2 separate regions of the Homo sapiens genome follow, and region 1 is linked to region 2. Evidence: promoter capture Hi-C in human tissues and cell types (Jung and others, 2019). All regions are on one chromosome and are shown on one strand. The core of a region is centred on a gene start or on the middle of the fragment in contact, and the rest is flanking DNA. Distances in the headings are between cores, read along the strand shown. Region 1 has its middle 27 kb from the start of DSG1. Region 2 holds the start of DSG4 (desmoglein 4).

Region 1 (3,808 bases), core at 653-3,152, 86 kb after region 2:
AGACATGGTGGCTCATGCCTATAATCCCAGCACTTTGGGAGACCGAGGCAGGTGGATCACCTGAGGTCAGGAGTTTGAGACCAGCCTGGTCATCATGGTGAAACCGTGTCTCTACTAAAAATACAAAAATTATCTGGGTGTGGTGGGGGTGGGGTGCCTGTAATCCCAGCTACTCAGGAGGCTGAGGCAGGAGAATCTCTTGAACCCAGGAAGTGGAGGTTGCAGTGAGCCAATATCATGCCACTGCACTCCAGCCTGGGTGACAGAGCAAGACTCCATCTCAAAAAAAAAAAAATGACTTCACGTGATTGCAAAAATAAAATATTTCAAAGGTTACTAGAGGGAAATAAATAAAATGATATCAATTCTTTCATTTTAGAACTTCTAAAGCATTTCTTTTTCAAGGATATCTCTTTTAGCATTTAGTAATTTCAATGAATAAATATGTAACTACATAAATTGTATTCTTTCCTTTTGTAGCTTCTCTTAAAATGCAAGATCTAGTAACTTGCAGGAAGTATGAATCTAAATGTAGTGAAGTCTCCCTTTCTTTGACCCAGATTTATGCCTCCAGGTTCAGTAGGTATGGGATGAGCCACCAGCAATTCAGGTATGCATGAGAGAATGATGAGCTACCCAGAAGACAATCTTATATATCTCATAGGGGAAAAGAGTCAGGTAGACAAGTTTGGTCCAGGAAACAAAAGATTGGTTGCCCTAGAGGAAAAAACAACCATGAATATACCATGTTGTCCATAATACACATTTATCTCTTGACCTCAATGTATGCTGAGGTGCTGAACGTAAGACTGAAATGACATAAGATCCTTTCCAGACAAGCAAATACTGAGGGAATTTGTCACTACCAGACCTGCTTTTTAAGAGCTCCTGAAGGAAGCATTAAATTTGGAAAGGAAAAACCATTACTGGCCACTACAAAAACACACTGAAATACACAGACCAGTGACACTATGAAGCAACTGCATAAAAAAGTCTACAAAATAACCAACTAGCATTATTTGATCCAACAGGATCAAATTCACAAGTAACAATACTAATCTTAAATGTCCATGGGCTATATGCCTCAATTAAAAGACACAGAATGACAAGCTGGATAAAGAGCCAAGACCCATCAGCATGCTGTCTTCAAGAGACCAATTTCACATGTGAAGACACACATAGGCCTAAAATAAAGAAATGGAGGAAAATTTGCCAAGCAAATTGAAAACAGAAAAAGTAGGGGTCAGAATCCCACTTTCTGACAAAATAGATTTTAAACCAACAAAGATCAAAAAAGACAAAGAAGGGTGTTACATAATGGCAAAAGGTTCAATTCAACAAGATCTAACTATCCTGAATATATATGCACCAAATACAAGAGCAACCAGATTTATAAAACAGTTCTTAGAGACCTTCAAAGAGACTTAGATTCTCACAAAATAATAGTGGGAGACTTTAACACCCCACTGACAATATTTGACAGATCACTGAGACAGAAAATTAGTAAAGATATTCAGGACCTGATCTCAGCTCTAGACCAAGTGGACCTGATAGATATCTACAAAACTCTCCACCCCAAAACAACAGAATATACATTATTCTCATCGTCACATGGCATTTACTCTAAAATTGGTTATATAATTGGAAGTGAAACACTTCTCAGGAAATGCAAAATAACCAAAATCATAACAAACAGTCTCTCAGACCACAGCACCATCAAATTAGAACTCAAGATTAAGAAATTCAGTCAAAACCACACAACTACATGGAAGTTAAACAACCTGCTCCTGAATGACTCCTGGATAAATAATGAAACTGAGGCAGAAATCAAGAAGTTCTTTGAAACTAATGAAAACAAAGAGACAATGTACCAAAGATCTCTGGGATGCAGCTAAAGCAGTGTTAAGAGGGAAATCTATAGCACTAAATGCCCACATCAAAAAGCTAGAAAGATCTCAAGTTAACAACCTAACATCACAACTAAAAGAACTAGATAACCAAGAGCAAACAATCCCAAAGCTAACAGAAGACAAGAAATAACCAAGATCAGGGCTAAACTGAAGAAGATAAAGACAAAAAAAAAAAAACACCCTTCAAAATGTCAACAAATCCAGAAGATTTTTTTTTGAAAAAATTGATAAAATAGACCACTAGCTAAACTAATAAAGAAGAAAAGAAAGAATCAAATAAATACAATCAGACTTGATAAGGGGGAAATCACCACTGACCCCACAGAAATACAAGTAACCATTAGGAAATACTATAAACACCTCTATGCACATAAACTAGAAAATCTAGAAGAAATGGATAAATTCCTGGACACATACACCCTCCAAAGATTGAAGCAGGAAGAAATTGAATCCTCAAATATACCCATAATGAATTTTGAAATTAAGGCAGTAATAAATACCCAACTAACCAAAAAAAAAAAAAAAAAAAATAGCCAGGACCAGACAGATTCACAGCTGAATTCTACCAGAAGTACAAAAAAGAGCTGGTATCATTTCTACTGAAACTATTCAAAAACATTGAAAAGGAGGGACTCCTTCTCAACTCATTCTATGAGGCCAGCATTATCTGATACCAAAACCTGGCGGAGATACAACAAAAAAAGAAAGCTTCAGGCCAATATCCCTGATGAACATAAGTGTAGAAATTCTCAGTAAAATATTGACAAACTGAATCCGGCAGAGCATCAGAAAGCTTATCCACCATGATCAAGTTGGCTTCACCCCCAGGATGTAAGGTTGGCTCAACATATGCAAATGAACAAATGTGATTCATCACATAAGCTGCACTAAAGACAAACACCACATAATAATTTCAATTGATGGAGAAAGGTCTTTGATAAGATTCGACATCCCTTCATGTTAAAAACTCTCAATAAACTAGGTATTGAAGGAATACACTTCAAAATAATAAGAGCCATATATGGCAAACCCACAGCCAATATCAAACTGAATGGGCAAAAGCTGGAAGCATTCCCCTTGAAAACTGGCACAGGACAAGAATGCCCTCTCTTACCAATCCTATTCAACACAGTATTGGAGTTTCTGGCAGGGTAATTGTCAGGCCTCTGAGCCCAAGCTAAGCCATCATATCCCCTGTGACCTGCACATCATATACATCCAGATGGCCTGAAGTAACTGAAGAATCACAAAAGAAGTGAAAATGGCCTGTTCCTGCCTTAACTGATGACATTACCTTGTGAAATTCCTTCTCCTGGCTCATCCTGGCTCAAAAGGTCCCCCACTGAGTACCTTGTGACCCCCACCCCTTCCAGCCAGAGAACATCCCCCTTTGACTGTAATTTTCCACTACCTACCCAAATCCTATGAAACGGCCCCACCCCTTTCTCTCTTTGCTAACTCTCTTTTTGGACTCAGCCCACCTGAACCCAAGTGAAATAAATAGCCTTGTTGCTCACACAAAGCCTGTTTGTGGTCTCTTCACATGGACGCTTGTGAAATTTGGTGTGGTGACTCGGACTGGGGGACCTCCCTTGGGAGATCAATCCCCTGTCCTCCTGCTCTTTGCTCCATGAGAAAGATACACCTACGACCTCTGGTCCTCAGAACAACCAGCCCAAGGAACATCTCACCAATTTTAAATCGGGTAAGTGGCCTCTCTTTACTGTCTTCTCCAACTTCTCTCACTATCCCTCAACTTCTTTCTCTTTTCAATCTTGGTGTCACACTTCAATCTCCCTTCTCTGAATTTCAATTCCTTTCCTTTTCTGGTAGAGACAGAGGAGACGTGTTTTATCTGTGAACCCAAAACTCCGGCACTCGTCATGGACTCGGGAAGA
Region 2 (3,957 bases), core at 142-2,641:
TTTAATAATCTGTCTCCTAAACTCAGAGGATGCAATATTCTACCACTGTTGTCACGTTCCCTTTTGAGCTTGGGGTTGTGTGCCCTTTGGCAGTGTTCGGCTCCCGCACTGCTCTTGAAGTTTAGAAATGTGAATTCCAGAAGAGTAGCTCTCACTGTGCCTCTTGGACAATGACGTGCTCCCATCTCTCCCAGCCCTAGCTACTCTCTGTCTCTTACAACTGATGTTCAGAGGAGTCTGGTATAATTGCCACTTGCCTAAGAATAGGATGGGAATCACTTTCTAAGCTTAGGTTGTAGCGCTAACCTGGATACTCCTGGGAGATTGAAGTGTGGCCAACTATAATGCATTTGTCTTAATTTACTTTGAAAAATTTGTACAGTTCCTAATAATCCTGTCCTCTTACCCTCCCAGAATTGGCAATAGTTTGTTGATTGGCCAACTGGAACTTTGTTCTTCTTTGGAGTTGGAATTATCTCTTTCTAGGGTAGGATATTTGCTATGCATGCTGCCTGTCTGGAAATCATGTCACACCTTGGGCACCCAAAGGTTAGAGGAAAGAAATATAATATCCAAGATGCCATGTTTACTGTAAAGAAATAAGTCATTTAAATATTTCTTTGCTGGTCTGTAGGAATGCATTCATAATTCCAGAAAAGTTTTGTCTTGATGGCTGGGCTTCATTTTTCTTTAGCAATATCTGACTGGAAAAAGTTCTCATGACTTTAGTATGTCATCATTAGTTGCAATGTAATTTCAACATGGCTATCATTCCTCCACTTTGAAAGAAACTCATAGGGAAATAACTATTGAAAAGAAATGGGTTTGATTAACTTCCCTTCAAATTTAGAACCCATTTGCACTGGCAGTTTTCACAGCAATCTATCTGATTTATTTATATGATCATAGAATATGAATTTTATTTCCAATTTAAAATTTTAGAATAGTCCTAACACTCAAAGTGAAGTAGATTATGTCTCTGAGGGCATATAAATTTAATTCAGCCAGATTCTCACCCCGCTTCTCTATGGCATTTTGTTCCTCAAGGCGGAGAGAGTTGTTTGAAATTAACAGAGGCTGGACTTCTAGAACTCTCTTTGCAGGAAGGAGATTAAAAATGGAATAAATCCCATGTAGAAAGCCCGACAGTTGACAGAGACAAGACCTTGAGGCTGCATTTCCTTCCCACCTCTTTAAATTCTACTTACCATTAGAATGATCAAAAGGCAAATGTTTCTGAAGAAGAGCCAATCCATTCCTTTGGGTTTCTCTTGCACGCAAATCCTGTGAGATTCAATTTGAGCCCTCGTCTTCTCAGTTCCGAATTCTGCTCTACAGAAAGATATGCTTTGAGACACCCTTTTAGGAGGGCATGGGTGATAACTGTGGTGATCTCTGGGCAGAGAGATGAAGATATTCTATAATGACTGTTTCCCCACCCCAAACTCCCAGGCTGGTCTGGAAGACTGGCATTGTTTGGGCTCTGGGTAAGAATTTAGACACACCTTGATTCTTATTGCAATGAAACCCTTTGTTGGACACCAAAGAAAAACCTTACAGAGCGAGGACAAGATTTACAGGGAAGATAGCCAGTGAATAATAAATTACTCACAACATAAAAAATAATTAAAATGCTAGGGCCTATCATCATGCTGAATAAAATTAGAAGGCTTCTTCTTACTGCCAACATTGTAAAAGCAAAATTACATATACTGACAACACATACACACACATGTCCACTGCAGAACCCACTTCAAGGAATGATACTTTTAGCAGAGGCCATTGTTGAAAGTCATCAGGACTCAAGTATGGTATAGGAAGAAAGATAGAATAATGACGCTCATTTCAATTCAGTTGAGTCCTGCTTCTCTCTTTAAAATGTCTTGTGGTTGAACCGCACTCTCAATTTTAAAGATTTTCTGAAATAACAAAGTTAAGATGAAGGAACTCTGATTTAACTAGTACCAGTATGTTTGTTTCCATACTTTGGCATTTTCTTTCTTGATTATTCAGTCAAACCTCTACAATATGATATTTACAAAATCATTTTAAAGTAACTACAATACAACATTCTCACTTCTCATAGTATTACCACTGATAAAAAGTACATAATGTGGGTGAGGAACACATTTTACACCACCACAAATATTTATTAAGGAGAAACTGAAGTTGGAAACGTGAGAATTTAATGAAAAAAAGCCCAGAGTGGGATCTGGATATTTTTGAATATTATTTCCCTTTTTCGTGTCTCCCTTTTCCTTTGTTAGTATGGGTTTGAAACAGGGTATAGAGTGTCCTGATGCAAACATTGCAGGCTGGCAGCAACATCAATAAACTTAAAAGAAAATGCAGTTAACTGTTCTCTGATTGATAGATAATACATGTTGGTTGGAGAATTTCAAAGGGAGACTGCCTCCTGTCTTCACTATCCCATCACTGTAATTCAGAAACAAGGTTGACCCTGGTAATAGAATGTATTCTAAGTATTGCTTAGTTTCTTGAGAAAAGTAGTTTTAGTATTTTTGGAAGCCAGATAAAGTAATTTACTTTTGCATTATTTCATGTCATGTTGAATTAGATAATTTAATTTGCCTAAGAGAATTAATGAAACAACTCCAGGTCTTTAAGTGACATTGCTTTTTACAAGGGAAAAACAACATTCTTCTCTATTGTTGTGTTTGAAGGAGATATTTCACAAAGGTCTCTATCTTTTGTTTACACTATAGATGATTTCTTCTACATATAAGATTTTTCTTATATTTTCTTCTAAATATAAGATTTTCTATCTACTTGAATGCTATTTATAGGATGAGTTTTAAAGAAAAGAAACAGGAAGCAATAGAAATAGGTACTAGATCATTTATGTGGGTACCTCTAGCTTTCTCCATTTGAAACTCCTGATTTCAATGGTATCCAGAATTTGAATCCAGATTATAATTATGAACATATTTAAAAGATTCTTCAGTAACTAAGGAGGAACTACCTGAAGCCCCATCATTTCATTTCTGTTTACTCCTTGGAGATTTGTGGGAATGATCTTTTGCTTTAAAGTTTTTTTTGGAGACAGAGTCTTGCTCTGCTTCTCAGGCTGGAGTGCAGTAGTGGTCTGAGTGCAGCTCACGGCAACCTCTGCCTCCTGAGTTCAAGTGATCCTCCCACCTCAGCCTCTCAAGTACTTGGGTTTACAGGTGCATGTCACCACACTTGGTTAATTTTAAAAATATTTTGTAGAGACAAGGTCCTGCTATATTGTCCAGGCTGGTCTCAAACTCGTGGGCTTAAGTGATCCTCCTGCCTTGGTCTCCTAAAGTACTGAGATTACAGGTGTGAGCTACTGTTTCCCACAGGGGATGGATGATTTTACAGTGGAATTCCCAAAGACAAAACTTGGTTATGGTTCTGAGCTTGTGTAGATAAAGAGTAGCTACTTCCGTTTCTCTTGAAGAGTATCAGTCATTGTAGAAACAGAGCATAAAACATTAATGCTTAAAGATACCACAGAGATCATATAATCCAATCTCTCCTATCTTGCCTCTCTCCTACCCATGTGATAGTGATAGTCTAGGGAGGCTGTATGGTTTATTAGGGTCAAAGATAGGCAAGAGTTCCATCTCCTCATTCATAGTCAGTTTATATAAATACCAAGCCACTTTTCATTATTAGCTACGTATGTGAAGGCAAAATAGTGGATGGTTAAACACTATTAGCTTTAAAAGACTTTCCCATACTTTAGAGTTTACTGAACTGTTGGTTCTATGAGCAGAATTTTTAGCAAGTTTTTTATAGTATTTATTTTTGATGTCAAACCAGTGACATTTCATTTGCTCAGATGAAACCATACATTGGCTTTTAGGGATGCTACTGATATTTAATTATTGTACTTATGCTTCTATAATATTGTATAAAGTAGCAAGACACCTTTATTCTCCACATCACATCTGTGTAGAACACAGTGAG

The links. Contacts are between HindIII fragments. The study calls those that stand out against the background at their distance.
Region 1: a fragment that was not itself captured here is called in contact with the fragment with the promoter of DSG4 in region 2 in 2 of the 25 tissues and cell types used here (heart left ventricle and small bowel).

The regions. Positions count from the first base shown.
Region 1 is chr18:31,289,186-31,292,993 of GRCh38, reverse strand. No RefSeq gene overlaps it. Among named protein-coding and RNA genes, the nearest start is that of DSG1, 27 kb to the left of the region's middle. The HindIII fragment of the contact is 4,429 bases long and covers 1-3,808 here.
Region 2 is chr18:31,374,211-31,378,167 of GRCh38, reverse strand. DSG4 (desmoglein 4) reads right to left here and starts at 1,391. Exons shown (of 16, transcript NM_177986.5): 1 at 1,209-1,391. The coding sequence starts at 1,256. All of the region lies in intron 1 of DSG1-AS1 (DSG1 antisense RNA 1), which reads left to right. The HindIII fragment of the contact is 6,705 bases long and covers 1-3,957 here.